Linked DNA regions of Homo sapiens: regions 1, 2, 4, 5 and 6 are each linked to region 3. The links are contacts of gene promoters, found by promoter capture Hi-C in blood cells and fetal thymus (Javierre and others, 2016). All regions are on one chromosome and are shown on one strand. The core of a region is centred on a gene start or on the middle of the fragment in contact, and the rest is flanking DNA. Distances in the headings are between cores, read along the strand shown.

Region 1 (2,700 bases), core at 161-2,660, 1.3 Mb after region 3:
CAATGTTAAGGTCCTCATTCCACCCTCCCTTTACCTGTTGAACTGAACAGTTCCCCAAATGGATACAAAAGTACTCAGAGTCCTTAGTATAACAAAGTCCTGAAGGTAGGAATTGGAAGCAATAGAGGGAAGGACGGTGACCACAGAAAATATTCAAGGTCTTTGGGAGGTCAACACCTCTGAACCCCCTGGTGGTGGGGGGCCCTTCTGGCCCATTTGCACCTTTCTTGCTAGTGTAGAAAACCTGAAGTTATCTCAGGCTAGATATATAACCCTCACTCATGTCTGCCGGAGCTCTCCCCCAGAATATGAATCATATTTGTAGGTTTCTTTGACAACCAACCACTCATTGATATGCTTGGAAGACTGCACCCCCACATTCCTTAAAAATACAATGGTACTCCCCCACCATAGGCAAGTCCCCGGACTCTGACACATATCTTCAATTGAAAGCAGACCCAGAAAGGAAAAACTGCATAATACACCATCCTTTAATATTTGCCCAGAATTTCCAATACTAGAAACCCCACTGCAAAGCAGAAAGACTATCTGGTAGCTTCAAGGAACCATTTCAGGAGATTGTTGTGTGGGCCTCAGTATTCAAGGCTGCCTTAGAAGATCGTGCGATCCTCTCACTCTTCTTGCCCCAAGTACCAGAGTTAATAAGCCACTGAACCAACCAGAGGGGAATTATTTTTGGTCCCGGTTTAAAGAAAACAAAACAAGCTGTTGATTCTGCCATGACCTCTTGGGTAATGTTGTCTCTATACCTGTGATAAACAGAAAACAACTAATAAAGGTTTATCCCGCCCTCACCCTCTTAAACCCGCTTCACAGACCTGGCTGAAACTCACATCCAGGCGAGGCGCTCACGTGACCCGTTCTAAACGCGTCATAGGGACACGTGGTTCTAGATACTTCTCCCCCTCCCACTCAGGGGTGGATTGTTGACAAGGCCGCGGGCAGTCACGTGATCTTACATCATCCCACCTCCTTTCCCTGAAATCTCTGGCCCGGATGCGTCCCTCTTTCTCCACCCCGCCGAGCCTAAACTAGTGACGGGGAGGGAGACGGGATAGTGTTTCTGTTTCGTGGTCTTTGAATCCACAACCTCTAGTCTGAACACAGAGAACACAAATTTGTCTATTACTTCAGGAAGCCCAGGGGGAACCGCGCCCCGCTGAAGGGCTCGGGGAAGGCGCGCTCCCGCGTCCCGCCCCCTCCTCCCCCAGCACTCACACTGTGGTAGCGGCGGAGGGCGGAGGGATCCGGAGGCGGCGGAGGGAGACGTCATTGCAGGGTTGTTTGTCAGTCTCGGCGGCGGCGGCGGCGGCGGCGGCGGCGGCGATCCACAGTGATTCGGCCGCCGCGCCGGGGGGTGGGGGGGCTGCGCGGGACTTTTTTTTTTTCAGACTGACCGCGGGGCAGCTGCGGAGCATGTCGACCCCGGCCCGGAGGAGGCTCATGCGGGATTTCAAGCGGTAAGGGCCTTCACCTTCGCCTAGATGACGGCCCCTCAAAGCTGCGGGGCTGCAGGGCGTGGATCCCAGACACCTTCCCCTTTGTGACCCTCAGAGGGCCGGCTGTGGGCCCAGCGGGACTGGCGGAAGCCGGGTCCTAGCCTCGGCCCTACTCCCATAAGCTTTGCCGCTCGTTCTGGCGCCCGAAGAAATTTTGATACTGCTTCCCCTCCCCACAAAAAGTAAAACGGTGTCGATCGACTGGTCTAGGGTTCCCTGCTGCCCATTTCGGCCAGCTGCCCGGCGTCTCGCCCAGGCGATCAGACATTATCCGCCCGCCCCTGCACCCTGCGGCGCCCCCTTCTTGTCCCCTCAAAGTGAGCTCCTGCGGGAGCTTGTTCCTCTCCGGCAGCACCAGTCAGCTTTGTTTCACGGCCCCGCCGTCTTCTCCGAGGAGCCGTGTTGGGGCGAACCCCTCTCCCGACTCCTGCCAATCCTTTCCATTTGTGCCCTGAGGGTGGGGTCCAGTGCGTGAGGCCCGGAGGTTAACCCATCCCCCGAAACCCGACTCTGTCCCCGCCCGCCTGAAAGGACCTTGGGAACTGACTTAGAGATCTGGGACCTTAGAGCTGGCCACCCCGGCTGCCAGTGCTTTCTGGAACTCAGCTCTGGCTGGTGAAGAAAGCCCCTATCTATAGCCTCCCGAGTCTGGAAAAATGCCTTCCCTTAGACTGGCGCTAATCTGATACTCCCTGGGCCTCCTTTGGTAAATAAAATAGGGTTTTGTTAGGAGGTATTGGGGTTGTGAGATAGAAAATGATTATTCCGTTGTTTACCTTTTATTGGATACTTAGAGACATAGAAAAAATAAGTGAGAAAACATCATTTTGATACTCTGCACATTTTTCTTAACATTTTTTCTGGGGACACCTGCCCTAATTGAACAAAATATCTAGCATAAAAACTTAGATTTGTCGCTCAGGAAGTCACCTCTCAGCTATTATAAAGCCTATGTGAGGCACTTGGATTTGGCCAACTTATTTAATTCATTCGTAGCTTCTCTTAGCCATTTAAAGGTAGGCGTCAAGCAGTGCAGTTCTTCTAAGGCTTCTGTTCGTGGTGGCCTAATTTGCTTGAGATTGACTAAAAACCATTTTTTTAATGTGGACTAGTTGCAAATTATGATGCCCCATGAAAAACAACTGCATATGTATTTGTGTGTGTATATAATGTAGCATTT
Region 2 (2,714 bases), core at 2-2,501, 1.2 Mb after region 3:
AAACACTAAGCACAATGTCTGGAATACAATCTCAGTCGACAGTTATTATCACTACTACTACTTGCAGCCACAAAATACTATCAAGTAATTTTTGCAACAAAGATACAAAATTTACCGCTCTTCCATTTTATGTTGTTCATTTTAAAAATAAACGGCAAAATGCCAAGTGTGTTAAGCTTAGAGAAGGCTTTGAGTCAGCATATAAATCATATTCAACCGACACTTGATTTCCAATCCAAAAGCTCCTTATGTAGTATGACTCACCAAATTCCCGATTTCTTCCAACTATGAAAAATAAGTTACACTCCTCCCTTATAGCTACCACCATGACCTTCGTAAAAATTAGGTTAAGAGAATAATTTAAAAATTCTTAAAGACACCCCTTACCTTGATTTCTGGAGAAGATCGCTTGGTGAGTTTAATACAAACCACCAAGGGGTACTAAAGCTGTGTGACCTTTAGGTATGTTCTGGGATACGGCCTAACAAGACTGCCTTTGGGGGATCCTCTGGGCAGCTCTGGACCTAACTAGGCCTGGGTACCAGCGGCAAGACTCTTACTCAGCCCACCGGAGAGGCCCAGGCTCCATTCCCAAGCCGCAGAATCCAAGCCAGCTCACCCTCAAAACCGTCCCTGACGATGACCCACAGGGTCTCCGCTCCCCCTGCCACCTCGTCTGGCGCCAAGGCCGGCTGACTCAAAAGCCCAGGAGTCGAGTGAACGGCGCCATTTTAGGCGGCGGCGGCAACCAATCCCTGCGCGGGAGGCAGGGGGCGCCGGGTCGTTAGGAAGCCGCCGCCGGCCAGGATGGGCGCCGGTCTCGGAGACTCGGGGGGCCCGGACCGGCGGCCTCCGCCATGTTGCACCCTCCTCACGGCCGCCTTTTCCTCGGCGGGCTCGGCCCCGCGGCGGCTGTCCGCAGCCGTACTACAGCTCACCTTCTCGCAGAGGCTCTTGACCTGGGACTCGGACAGCTGCTTGCACTCGTTCAGCTGCTCGATCCACTGGTCCAGCTCCTTGGTGAACACCTTCTCGTCCATGATGCCACCCGCCCCAGCCGGCTGCCGCTCCGCGCTGCTCCCGCGCCGCCGCCCGCACACGGGCCTACACGCACACGCCGCCGCCGGTTCCTCGTGTACTTCTGGCGGCTGTTGAGGCTGGCGCTGGCCCGCTGGCTCTCACCGCAGTACTCGGCCGTCGGCCGCTGCGCCTCCTCCTCCGCTCGCTGAGGCTCCAGAGCTCGGCTCTCTGTAATGGCGGCCGCCGGGCGTGGTGACGTCACGCCCGGCGTCAGGAGGCGGCGGGGAGCGGAGGGGAAAAGGGCCGGGGAGCAAGCTGCGCAACTGCAGAGCCCTCCCCGGGCGGCCGCACGACCGGAGTTGGGGCGCAAACTGGGGGTCAAAGCGCAGGCGCGACGTAGCCGGCTGGTAACTGAAGCGCCTTGACTTTTTGGGCGTGGCTCCCGGAGGGCGGGGTGGTGGGGGAAGGGAAGGATGGAGCTGGAGCATGCGCAGTGCGCACAGCGGCGAACCGGACTAATCCCTGAGCACTATTCCAGGAGAGGCGAGGGCTTGGGCCGCGCGCAGGCGCAGACCGGATGGAAGCCGGGGCCACTGGCAGCCTGTAACTGGTTCCCCTGGGAAGGCCGCTCTGGTGATGAACTCAGCTCCTCACCTGGGGCCTGGCAGTCCGATCACGGAAACGAGAATTGCGACCCCGTGGCTCATCTGGGGTGCTGCGGCTCTGTAATCGTGTGGGTTTCCGTCATCTTTGGGGGCAGGAACGGGCAGCGAGTGGCCGCTTGGATTAACCACCCCCACCTCTGGGCGCGGCTGGCACCTTGTAATTAGGTCACTCGTAGGTGGAGGAGCGTGTACCTACCGGGGGAGTGCTGCGCAGTGCACCTGACTTCCGCGGCACACACCCGTCCCCGGACCTAGGTGTCTCGTCGGGCGCGATGGCGGGGGCGAGGCTTGGGCTTTTCTTTGGGCCTCGGACCGCGGCTCGCTTCCACGCGCCCCGCTCCTCGCCGGTGGTTGCTTTCCTCCAAGTTTAATTCTCTCTGGGAATGAGAGACCCTCAACCCCTGCGCGCCCTGGCCTACTTTCAAGAGGGGAAGCCCAGAGAAGATGGATGCACCTGTCCTGACCGCGTCTCGGTGGCGTGAGAAGCAGCTGTGATACGTGCTTAAAAGAGAGAGCTCGTATACCCTAGGATTGGACCTCTGTCTGGTTATGAATCGCTTTGGAGTTTGCGAAACGTTTTCACATTCCATTGTCCCTGCTTTTACATAAATATCTGGTTCCATAGAGCGCCAGCTATATGCCAGATCCGGAGGGGTCATCCAGACGGACCAGGGACCATGCCCTGGAGCTTGTATTCTCCCAACAGTACTGGCTGAAGATGGTTTGGGATAGGCAGAAGAGAGATCATAATGCCCCCAGGATTTGAAAGATATAGAAGCTTTCCAAAGAACATTTAACCATAAAGGGCAAGGCAAGAGCTGAACCTGATCGCCTGTCTTCCAGGAACCCCACCCTCAGTATCAGGCAACCCTTCCACACCCAAGTGCTCAGCGATGCTTGGGAGGAGACTGCTCACTCTGCGGCTCTGAGGGCATCATCCCCACCAACAGGCTGAAGAAGGCACTGGAGGCCCCATCAGCCAATAGCAGGACTGAAAATCCTCCTTTATCCAAGACAACGTGTTTGGCA
Region 3 (2,700 bases), core at 109-2,608:
GGAGGTGGCAGGAAATGCAGGTATTTAAAGGGAAGGGCATACCAGGGCAATGTAATTTCTTCTTTGCTCATTCACTTTTAAAATGGCTGAAGGGCAGGTACTCTAGCCTTGAGACCTTCAACTCATGATGTACCCTCCAGCAACGGAGAATTTCTTTTTAGTCCTTAAACTATGGTCTCTATTGCTAGTTTTCCAAACTTGAACACAGCCTTTTCCTTTTCTGGGAAGTTGTCCTAGTCTCCACCATTCTGTGCATATAGCACTCGCCATTCTGTACTGGGGTCACCTTTACTTGTTTAGCCACCCTCATGATGGGGATGATCCAGGTTTTGCAGAGGTGAAACTTATATACCATTGGGGGGCCCTACAAATACACAAAACAAATAATTAAAACGACAAATCACAACACATTACTAGAGACTTGGAGATTCAGATTCTCCTTAGATCTCTCTGGGTAATTTATTAGAAATGCTTACATAGATTTGCTTCCTAATCTCAAGCTGGCTTCCCCTCTCCACAACTCAGCAACTATCTATTCTCCCAGGAGGCCATACAAGCGAGGGGCCCTGAAGCTTAACATTTATTAACTTCATGTAAAGGTCTGAGCGGACCTTTCAGGCCAGGCAGCGTGTCACTTGCCTGTGTTCCTTGTTAGGGCCTACCACCGGGTAGGTGCTTGGAATGTGCTGTGGATTAAAGGCTTAAATCCTGCGGGCCCCTCAATCTGATCTAAGGACATGAGTGGCTTAGAGAACGGCGCAACAAGGCTAAGCGAAAGAAAACAAAGCGGTGTGGCTGGGAGTGGGCTCCTTCCCTCCGCTGGTGAGGGTGCGATCTTAGACTCTTGAGAGAACCCGACATAAAGGCCGCGTTCCAATGGCGGCCTTCTCCCCTACCGGCCAACCTGCCCCGAAAAGAGCAGAAGGCACCCTGCGGGATCTGCAGATCAGCTTGCGTCTCATTCTGGGGCACCGACACGGTGGAATGCAAGACACCCCACTACCGGAAGTTTCTTTGATGTTAAGAAAAACGGCGGAAGTAGGCCGCAGCGCTTCCTCAGTATAGTGCCTCGAGCTGGCTCGCCTACTTTCTACGGTAAAGGGAGGTGCTCCACATCTCTATGCAGCTGTGCAGCGCCGCAGGTTCCATGCGCAGGCTCGGTTGGCTAAATGCGCTTTCCAGCCATCTTTCAGCCACCCAGTCCTTTCCCAGGTTCTCGAGCCAGGACGTGACGTATTCAGACGTACTGGGGGCGGGGCCTCAAGGGGAAAAGCGCCTGAGCCGGGATATCGCGAGAACATCCCGTTCTTTCGTAGCTCTGGTGCTGCGGCTCCGCTCTCGTCGCAACGAGATCTTTCGAGATCTTCTCCGCCCCCGCTACCGGCGCCTCCTCTGCGGCCACTGAGCCGGAGCCGGCCTGAGCAGCGCTCTCGGTTGCAGTACCCACTGGAAGGACTTAGGCGCTCGCGTGGACACCGCAAGCCCCTCAGTAGCCTCGGCCCAAGAGGCCTGCTTTCCACTCGCTAGCCCCGCCGGGGGTCCGTGTCCTGTCTCGGTGGCCGGACCCGGGCCCGAGCCCGAGCAGTAGCCGGCGCCATGTCGGTGGTGGGCATAGACCTGGGCTTCCAGAGCTGCTACGTCGCTGTGGCCCGCGCCGGCGGCATCGAGACTATCGCTAATGAGTATAGCGACCGCTGCACGCCGTAAGTGTGGGCCGGGCCTGCCGCGTGCACTGGGGTTAGGAGATAATGCTTGTTCCAGTCTGGGACCCTCGCTGCTTGGGGAACGCGGGCCGAGGAGTCGCCTCCGTTCCGAGCCGAGGTCCCGGTAGGTCAGGGACCCCCAGTAGGTATTAGGACACTAGGGGCCGCGGCCCACTATGAGCGTGGGTGTGTGCTAAGCGCGAGGGCCTTTTCCCCGGTGGCCCGTCGGCCGAAGAAAGGCTTCTGGCCGGTACTCGGACCAGCGGAGGGCACGGGTAGGAACTGGAAGGACTGCAGGCCTAGGATGTAAACGGATCGCGGTCCTTTTCTTGAGGGCAGAGACCAGGCCCAGGTCGTACTGAGTCTTTTGAGTCCAACAGAAAGCTCAGAACTTTGCACACAGCAGGCGCTTAATAATAGTTGAATCGAACGGGTTCTGGGGCTTGCCAGCCGCGAGACCGTGGAGCGGTCAGCGTCCCACGTGAGTGGGGGCGGGGCAGCGCCCGGAAGAGAGCGAGCTGGAGCAGCCTCAGGCACGGGTTCCGGATGGACTCGGGGTCTTGAGATTGGGTTGGCACGGATAGGAATTTAATAAAATCGGTGCTCTTATGATAACTTTGCAATCGCTTTTGTTTTCCACATTATTTCGGGATATTGTGCTATATTGGGTCACTCTCTGTTTTGTGCGCGTTAACCCCTCAATAGGGTTGCACTTTAACGATAATGCATTCTAACCAGTGTGTTGGCCACAATTGTTAGTGGCTCAAGGGCCCGCCTTGACTTCTAGAACCCATAGTAAGTTTTGGGACCAGCATAGACACAGTTCTAAAAAATGGTGGGTCACTCAGGTCTTTCACTGGTTACAGTGTCTGCCTTTTGAATACTTGTAGATACATTTTAATCCGTTGTCGTGTTCTTAGACAAAATCTTGTAAGAAGTTCTGTATTATTTGCCATTCAGGGTCTCTCTTCTTTTTTTTTTTTTTTTTTTCTTTTTT
Region 4 (2,700 bases), core at 74-2,573, 1.7 Mb after region 3:
CAGCCTGGGCAACAAAAGCGAAACTCCGTCTCAAAAAAAAAAAACAAAAAAAATTCAACATTTCTGTGTGTGTTGCATGAGACAATACATATACATTTTTTTGGTGCCCAAACTCTCGAATAATGTTCTCAATCTTGACTGTACTTCAGAATTACCTGGGAAGCTTAAAAATTCCCAGTGCACAAGAAGCACTCCAGGCCAATTAAATCAGAACATAGGGGTGGAACCCAGGCTTCTATTTTATTTACTAATATTTTAGAGATGAGATTTCTCTGTGCTACCCAGGCTGGAGTCATCATAGCTCACTGCAGCCTCAAACTCCTGGGCTCAAGTAATCTTCTTGCCTCAGCCTCCCTGGCTCAAATGATCCTCTCACCTCAGCCTCCCAAGTAGCTAGAACCACAGGCGTGCCAGCACACCTGGCTAATTATTTTGCTTATTTTTTGTAGAGGGTCTCGCTATGTTGCCCAGGTAGGTCTTGAATTCCTGGGCTCAAGCCATCCTCCTGCCTCGGCCTCCCAAAGTGCTGGGATTATAGGCATGAGCCACCATGGCTGGCCCTTTTTTTGTTTTTTTGTTTTATTTTTAAGCTTCCCAGTGCAAGCAATGTTGAGAACTAATCTTTTGCCAAAGTATTTTTAGCTCTTTGTTCTCTACTAGGTTAACACCTACCGGGTCTTCAAATCTCACCTCAGAGTTCACTTCCAAGGGAAACGTGTTTTCTGAATCCGTCTCCAATGGTGGACTCTCCTTGCTGTATTACTTCTGCTTGTGTTTTTAGTCAAGTCTATTATTATTACTATTTTCTTTGCAGAGACGAGGGCTACGTTGCCCAGGTCTTGAATTCCTGGGCTCAATAGATCCTCCCGCCTCAGCCTCCCAAAGTGCTGGGATTTCAGGCGTGAGCCACTGTGCTGGCTTTAGTCATCTGTTTCCCGGATAGACTGTGAGCTCCCCAGGATCTAGCACAAGCCTGGCATATGACAACATAAATAAATGAGTGAATGTATACATGAATAAAGAGCGTGTACGGAGAAAGTTGCCGCATTATTTAGCGCAAATTAAGGCAGACATCAGCCTGCCCAGGACGCCTCTTTGGCTCTGGCGCGAAACACCCTCACGGGCCGGCGAGGCTGACGCGCTGCGCTCCATCGCACTAATCAGCCGGGCGTGGTGCGGGCGCCGGGAAGACTGGGCGGGGCGAAGGCATCACCTTTCGATGGGGCCGGCGCTGTGCGTCCTCCAGTCGAGGTGGGGCGCTGTGGAAGAGCGGCAGCTTCCGGTCGGCTTTTCTCTTCCTTCGGCTGCCGGCGCCAGCACGTCCTGTTTTCGTTGGCCGCGCTGGGATGGCCGCCACAGCTGTAGGTGCTGCTAGTGTTTAGCGCTGGTCTTTGCCGGGCGTTGAGGGCAGCTCAGCCTCCTTGTTTGTCCGGTTCGCCTGTGCGTGGTACTCAAGGGCACCAGTATTCCCGCGGTCGGCAGCATGGGTCGGGAGTCACGGTGAGGCAGAGCGCCGAGCGGGCTAGCGGGCGAGCGGCTTCTTGGGGTCGTGAGAAGAGGCGGGAGTTGAGGTGGCCGCCGGGCCAGGCCTGGCGCGGCCCCACGTGCGGTCAGCGCTGCCCCGCGAGCATTGGAAGGGCTGGGGGACCTCGGCTGAGGGAATGGTTGTGTTTGGGCCAGCGACGGCTTCCCCTGCACTACCATCAGAGGGTTCGAGCCCCTGGAGCGGGAACAACCCTCCAGGACGTTAGTGATTGGGCACCACATCCCGCCACTTCAAGGGAGCCTGCCCTGATTACTTCAGTCAGAAGTGATCCCAGTTGGATTGCTTATTGCTTCGCGTTTCCAACATTTCCTCGACTCCTGTCATTCTGTATTTTAGTTCTTTGTGCGCGTATGATCTTTTCCCAAGTTACTTGAAAGGAGCGTGTGGGCAGACATTTTTACCGCATCGACAGCACTATACACGACTAGGCTTTTACTGGGCTACAATAAATACTTGTTGCGTGGGCATTTACTTCGCAAATAGATTTCGTATTTAAGCAGGTAACTTTGTTACCTGCTTTTCTGTCCTTTTGAAGTTGTGGACTATGAGCTCTTATTAGAACTCATTAGATCTCATCACAACTTTAGATTGTTGATAGATTGTTAGGAACCTTGAGATTTTTATGTTAAAAATGACTATTTGCTATGTATTTAGCAATGACTGAAAGATATTTTATGTCTAGGAACAATGAAGGCTTTTGTTGTTAGTGCTAACAGTTCTTTGTTGAGGTACAATTAACAATCAGGGAAATGGACAAAACGTAAGGGTAAAGCTTGATGAAATTTAGCAAATATATAAACCGTGTAATCATCACCTGGATGAAGATAAAAAATATTTCTTTAACTACAGAAAATTCCTGTGACGGTGTTTTAAATCTCCGGAAGGCTGTCCAGACCAGAAATCTGAAAGTGATATTTATTTGACTCATTCTTCTCTCTCACTACCCACAGCCTGTTAGATTCTACATCCTTTGCCCATTCTGGTTGTCCCTGACTTAATTGAGGCCCTAATTATTTATTGTCCAGACTACTACATCTGTTTTAAATTGATTCTCTGAATTGATTGTCTTCCTCTGTTGCTCTCCTAATTGTTAGATCCCTTACACTACAGCCAGAGTGACACTTCTGAAGTAGAGATAAGATGATGGCATGCCC
Region 5 (2,746 bases), core at 79-2,578, 1.8 Mb after region 3:
TGAATGAATGGGCTTGCTTGTTTCGTGTGTTGTGTCCTGGCTTGTGTGTTTGTCCAGAAAAGTTGTTTCTCCTCCTTTCTTTCCTACTGGCAGGGCAGTACCTGGCTCAGGGCTGTGCTTATGGTAGAACTCAGTTCTATGAATTGTCCATCCTCAAATATCCTTCATTACATGGGGGAAAAGGGCAAGCATCCTCCTCTAGCCTCTTCCCACTGCTTAATAAAGTGTCTCCCTTTCAGTAGCTGCCCTAATTCTGGATCCTCTCCATTCTGACATCTGGAAATTCACAGGAGGAAGGAGTGAGGAAATGAATCCCTTCTAAGTGGGTTTGTGTGAGGTGACTGATATGTCAGATATCTCACAAGAAAAACATAATAGCGGTAGTTTGTTGTTCCATCCTTTCCTGTGATTATGGAATAATGAATGCGACAATTCCTGGGGCGTGGTGGCTTACGCCTGTAATCTGCGTGGATCATAGGATGTCCCATAAAATAAAGCTTTTCATTATCACATGATCCTGGGCATGAAGAGTCCCAACTCCCCTGACTATCATTTATTTGTCCTGTATCTAAGAAATGGGGTCAGCAGGAGTTCCAGCATCTCAGAATTGTGGTGAAAACCAATACAAGTAAGGAAGTTATTAATTCCCCATTTGGTGGGTTCCTCAACCCCAGCCACTGGGGACGGTCCACGCCGGATCACCAGCAGCTCAGGCTTAAGGCCACGACGCGCAAGCGCAGCCTGCCAGCCTGGCTCCCTCCCAAAGCTTGCGTGCAGGTTGGCGGCGGGAGATCGGGTCTCGCGATGCGAGTGAGCGTGTGCGTGCGCGGCCCTCGCGAGCTCGCGCACGCCGCCTCTAACACTACAGGGTGGTAGCGGCCTCTTCGTACTGCGTCCGGGGCAGGACCGTGCGCGGCGGCCGCGGCGGGTGCTGGGAGCCAGCGCCTGCCTCGCCGCCGCCCTCGCTGCCTGCCACTCCGTCTTGGCCCGTTCTCCGCACCGTGCAGAGGCGGCGGGCTGGGGAGGGAGCGGCGCCAGCACGAGGTTCCCAGCCGCTGGGAAGCCCCTAGACGCGCCGAGGGGCCGGGCTACGAGCGGCTGAGGTAGGTAGGGGTGCGCGGGCTGGTCAGCCGGCCGGGAGCGGGGTAGGGCGGCGGCGAGAACGGGCGCCTCGCTGACCGGGGAGAAGAGGCCTCCTGCCAAGGGGCCCTAGTGTAGCCGGAGTGAGAGGAGGGGCCCCGGACGTAGCCTGCTCTTCCCCGGTGTGGAGCCATTACGGGGGGACATTCCTCCTGCGGCGGGGGGAGGGAGCCCCCTTTCTTTTCTTTGAGAGGTCAGAATCCGCAGTCCGCCCTTCGCCTTTAAATAAAAGCCTGCCGGCTCGAGATCGGCGTCGCGATGGAGTGCCCGTGGACTTCTACGCTTGCGGAACTCCGAGTGGACGGATAGCGGCTTATGAATTTTGCTTTTTAGAGGGTACACAACCCTTTCTCTAGGGTGGCGTGCATCTTCTGCAAACTTGTTATTGCCAATACGCTAATAGTCGCTTTCAGCACACAACAGGTAATACATTCTAAACGCCTCGTGTCAAAATAAGGAGAGTCCTTATTTGTGCACCGTGGGGCACAGTTAAGGAGCAGGAAGAAGACAAAGGAGGCCGTTATTTATGTGCCGTCCTATTATCAAAACTTTCCGTGGTGGGGCAGGGTGCGTGGCTATTGGCCTCTGCTGAATGGACTTTCAGAGTGATTGAGGTGAGTTGCAAATCTTCATTTAGAATTATGAAACGTATATGATTATACATAATAGTTAGTCAAATGACCTGAAATAAATCTCTGAGAATTACGTGATCTTTGATCTTTGGAGAACAGAACTTGGGTTTCTTGAAAGGAAGCTTTCTCCATGTTTAGAAAGCTTCAGGGATGCTTTGTGAAGTTACTAAAAATAGTTACATTTCTTTATGTTGGCAGTAATGACTGCCACATTCAAGAGAAGAGAAAGGAATTGTTCTATAAAGAACGGCTCATTTTAGGGGTTAAACTTTAGGAGTTAAACACAATAAAACAACTTCAAGGATGGTAAGTTTTAGCTTATGCTTTAAGTATTCGAATTTAGTCACAGTCCAAATATATAGAAGCTCTTAGTTGACTCCTGTACATTCAGGGAACTATTTATTGGTTGTTTTTGTTTGTTTTGTTTTTTTTGAAACGGAGTCTCACTCTGTCCCCCAGGCTGGAGTACAGTGGCGCGATCGCGGCTCACTGCAACCTCTGCCTCCCGGGTTCAAGCAATTCTCCTGCCTCAGCCTCCCAAGTAGCTGGGATTATAGGCATGCGCCACCACACCCAGCTAATTTTTGTATTTTTAGTAAAGATGGTGTTTAACCATGTTGACCAGGCTGGTCTCGAACTGCTGACCTCGTGATCCACCCTTCTCAACCTCCCAAAGTGCTGGGATTACAGGCGTGAGCCACTGCACCCGGCTTCAGTAACTATTTAAAAAGATGATCTTTAACCTTTGATAGTCTACACAACCTGTTCTATAACTCTTGGCTTCTATTCAGTCCACGCTGTCTGGAAATGTAGTATTCATCCTATTTTTTTTTTTTTTTTCCTGAGATGGAGTCTGTTTCCTAGGCTGGAGTACAGTGGCACGAACTCGGCTCACTGCAACCTCCGCCTTTGGGTTCAAGCGATTCTCCTGCCTCAGCCTCTGGAGTAGCTGGAGTTACAGGCACCCGCCACCA
Region 6 (2,700 bases), core at 151-2,650, 1.6 Mb after region 3:
AAAAAAGAAAAAAAAGAAAAAGAAAACGAAGGATAAAACCATGACAAATATAAATAGTAGAAAATTTTTAAGAGTGGCCAAGGTGAGGGCTGGGCACAGTGGCTCATATCTGTAATCTCAGCACTTTAGGAGGCCAAGGCAGGCAGATCACTTGAGGTCAGGAGTTCGAGACCAGCCTGGCCAACATAGTGAAACCCCGAGTTGGGATGAGTATTTAAAGTGAGCGAGCGTAGAAATACTATGCTCAGCCAAGTGAGTACTTAACGAAATGAGTGTAGAAGGCTGGGGGAGGTGGCTCACGCCTGTAATCCCAGCACTTTGGGAGGCTGAGGGGGGCGGATCACCTGAGGTTGGGAGTTCGAGACCAGCCTGACCAAAAAGGAAAAATCTTGTTTCTACTAAAAATACAAGATTAGCTGAGTGTGGTGGTGTATGCCTGTAATCCCAGCTACTCGGGAGGCTGAGGCAGGAGAATCGCTTGAACCCAGGAGGCAGAGGTTGCAGTGAGCTGGAGATCACGCCATTGCACTCCAGCCTGGGCAACAAGAGCGAAACTCTATCTCAAAAAAAAAAAAAAAAAAAAAAGTAAGTGTAGAAATACACCTATAGCAGGACACAGTGGCTCACGCCTGTAATCCAAGCACTTTAGGAGGCCAAGCCGGACAGATCACTTGAGTTCGGGAGTTCAAGACCAGCCTGGCCAACATGGTGAAACCCCATCTCTACTAAAAATACAAAAATCAGCAGGATGTGGTGGTGCATGCCTGTAATCCTAGCTACTTGAGAGGCTGAGGCAGGAGAATCACTTGAACCCTGGAGGTGGAGGTTGCAGTCAGCCTGGAGCCACTGCACTCCAGCCTGGGCGATAGAGCGAGACTCCGTCTCAAAAAAAAAAAAAAAGAAAAAAGAAAAGAAATACTAATATAGCATTCCAACTTGTAAGCTTCAAATGATGTGGCAATGATTTTCATTTCCTTTTCTATTTCTTTTTTTTTCTTTTTTTTTTTTTTTTTTTTTTTTTTTTAGCAACAATGTCTTTTTCTTTCACCCAGGCTGGAGTGCAGTGGCATGATCACAGGTCACTGTAGTCTTGACCTGGCTTCAAGCAAACCCCCCATCTCAGCAGCGAGTAGCTGGGACTACTGGCCTGCTAGCCAGGGCCCTGCACCCAGCAAATTTTTTTTTTTTTAATGTAGAGACTGGGTCTTGCTATGTTGCCCAGGCTGATTTTCATTTCTGTTAGACTCATCTTTTTTCTTAATTCTTGCTTGAATTTCTATTCCAGTACAATAATGCAAGTCAAAGGAAGGTTAAAATATACCTTATTTAAACTGCTAATCTTTGTAATTACTGACAGTGCATCTCTGACATTTCTAAAATGAAGACACCTTCCTTTTCTACAAACTCAGAAAATGCCAATGAACTATCTTAACATTTTTTAAGTTCAAAACATTTTGGTGACAGACACAAGTCTACTGAAAGGTATAATAGTAGATAATCATGTTGCTTTGCTATACTGGCACCACCATTTATTTGTCATCTGTAAAATGACAGCTAGTGCCTTACTCATAGTAGTCAATAAATGTTCCTTTTCTTTCCTTCTTTCATTGTTTCAATGTGACCTACTCTTCACTGATACTTTAACACGGAATATAGGACGTCTTCAAAGACACTTAGTAATATAGAGGCTGATGTAAGAACACACAAATAAATAATACTATGTTTAATTTTTCAAGTTAAAAGGACTTCTTCACCTCATTTTGTCCACTGTACCAAACACCTTAAATTGCTGACGAATTTGGTTCTTTCAGCTAACAATGTCAAAGTTTTAGCTGTTTTAAAACAAATCTTCTTGGAAAAGCTTCAACACCTTAAAAATCAGTACAGTGGCCCACTGAGGTGGCTCATGCCTTTAATCCCAGCACTTTGGGAGGCCGAGGCGAGCAGATCACCTGAGGTCAGGAGTTGGAGACCAGACTGGCCAACATAGAGAAATCCCATCTCTACTAAAAATAGAAAAGTTAGACCGGATGCGGTGGCTCACGCCTATAATCCCAGCACTTTGGGAGGCCGAGGCAGGCGGATCACGAGGTCAGGAGATAAGAGACCATCCTGGCTAACACGGTGAAACCCCATCTCTACTAAAAAATACAAAAAAATTAGCGGTGCGTGGTGGCGGGCACCTGTAGTCCCAGCTACTCGGGAGGCTGAGGCAGGAGAATGGCGTGAACCCGGGAGGCGGAGCTTGCAGTAAGCCGAGATCGTGCCACTTCACTCCAGCCTGGGCGACAAGAGGGAAACTCTGTCTCAAAACAACAACAAAAATTTAAAAAATTAAAACAAAAATCAGTACAGTTTTCTCAACAGTGTATCTTTTTTCCACTTAACTGGGACTTTGGGCTACGGAAAACGTTAACCAGTACTAGTAAGGAAGCTCAATTTGCCTCTACACTAATTGGGAGCGCTGAAAACACCAGGCCGTGTCACAGCCTCTTCAGCTGTCAGTGAGACCCGCCACCTTCACCTTACCAGGTAAGGAAACTGAGGCCCAGGGGAAGGAAGGGGCTTGCCTGCAGCCACCTCGTTCTTTCCTGAAAAGACCAAGCGTCTGACAGCAGCAGTGTTCTGCCTCGAGGGCTATCAGACGGCCCCGCGGAGCATGGATGAGACCTGTCCTCCCTCGCGCCGCCTAACCCCGGG

Evidence for each region. The method cuts DNA at HindIII sites, captures the fragments that hold promoters and counts their contacts. A CHiCAGO score of 5 or more calls a contact.
Region 1: the fragment with the promoter of UBE2B here is called in contact with the fragment with the promoter of HSPA4 in region 3 in 2 of 17 cell types (fetal thymus and non-activated CD4 T cells); the score reaches 8.0 in fetal thymus.
Region 2: the fragment with the promoter of PPP2CA here is called in contact with the fragment with the promoter of HSPA4 in region 3 in 1 of 17 cell types (fetal thymus); the score reaches 6.4 in fetal thymus.
Region 4: a contact is called between the fragment with the promoter of DDX46 here and the fragment with the promoter of HSPA4 in region 3, in 2 of 17 cell types (total CD8 T cells and naive CD8 T cells). The highest score is 8.0, in total CD8 T cells.
Region 5: a fragment that was not itself captured here is called in contact with the fragment with the promoter of HSPA4 in region 3 in 1 of 17 cell types (fetal thymus); the score reaches 7.3 in fetal thymus.
Region 6: a fragment that was not itself captured here is called in contact with the fragment with the promoter of HSPA4 in region 3 in 1 of 17 cell types (monocytes); the score reaches 5.4 in monocytes.

What each region holds. Positions count from the first base shown.
Region 1 is chr5:134,370,159-134,372,858 of GRCh38, forward strand. It overlaps UBE2B (ubiquitin conjugating enzyme E2 B), which reads left to right and starts at 1,411. Exons shown (of 6, transcript NM_003337.4): 1 at 1,411-1,481. The coding sequence starts at 1,438. It also overlaps a transcript of CDKL3 not described here. RefSeq lists enhancers at 530-1,125, 634-703, 1,644-1,743 and a silencer at 1,174-1,223. The HindIII fragment of the contact is 3,578 bases long and covers 1-1,640 here.
Region 2 is chr5:134,224,822-134,227,535 of GRCh38, forward strand. PPP2CA (protein phosphatase 2 catalytic subunit alpha) reads right to left here and starts at 1,252. Exons shown (of 7, transcript NM_002715.4): 1 at 939-1,252. The coding sequence starts at 1,040. MIR3661 (microRNA 3661) reads left to right here and starts at 936; the gene lies at 936-1,031. PPP2CA-DT (PPP2CA divergent transcript) reads left to right here and starts at 1,589. Exons shown (of 1, transcript NR_186539.1): 1 at 1,589-2,714. RefSeq lists enhancers at 542-651, 991-1,510, 1,511-2,032, 2,032-2,191, 2,033-2,552. The HindIII fragment of the contact is 2,287 bases long and covers 175-2,461 here.
Region 3 is chr5:133,050,655-133,053,354 of GRCh38, forward strand. It overlaps HSPA4 (heat shock protein family A (Hsp70) member 4), which reads left to right and starts at 1,359. Exons shown (of 19, transcript NM_002154.4): 1 at 1,359-1,703. The coding sequence starts at 1,597. RefSeq lists enhancers at 646-1,608, 795-844, 915-964, 1,155-1,334, 2,573-2,700. The HindIII fragment of the contact is 9,846 bases long and covers 571-2,700 here.
Region 4 is chr5:134,757,456-134,760,155 of GRCh38, forward strand. DDX46 (DEAD-box helicase 46) reads left to right here and starts at 1,324. Exons shown (of 23, transcript NM_001300860.2): 1 at 1,324-1,500. The coding sequence starts at 1,484. RefSeq lists an enhancer at 1,099-1,588. The HindIII fragment of the contact is 1,728 bases long and covers 589-2,316 here.
Region 5 is chr5:134,845,110-134,847,855 of GRCh38, forward strand. C5orf24 (chromosome 5 open reading frame 24) reads left to right here and starts at 859. Exons shown (of 2, transcript NM_001135586.1): 1 at 859-1,103. RefSeq lists an enhancer at 570-1,305 and silencers at 825-1,204, 1,235-1,284. The HindIII fragment of the contact is 1,128 bases long and covers 765-1,892 here.
Region 6 is chr5:134,629,894-134,632,593 of GRCh38, forward strand. All of the region lies in intron 1 of SAR1B (secretion associated Ras related GTPase 1B), which reads right to left. Among named protein-coding and RNA genes, the nearest start is that of SAR1B, 1.6 kb to the right of the region's middle. RefSeq lists a silencer at 2,647-2,700. The HindIII fragment of the contact is 918 bases long and covers 942-1,859 here.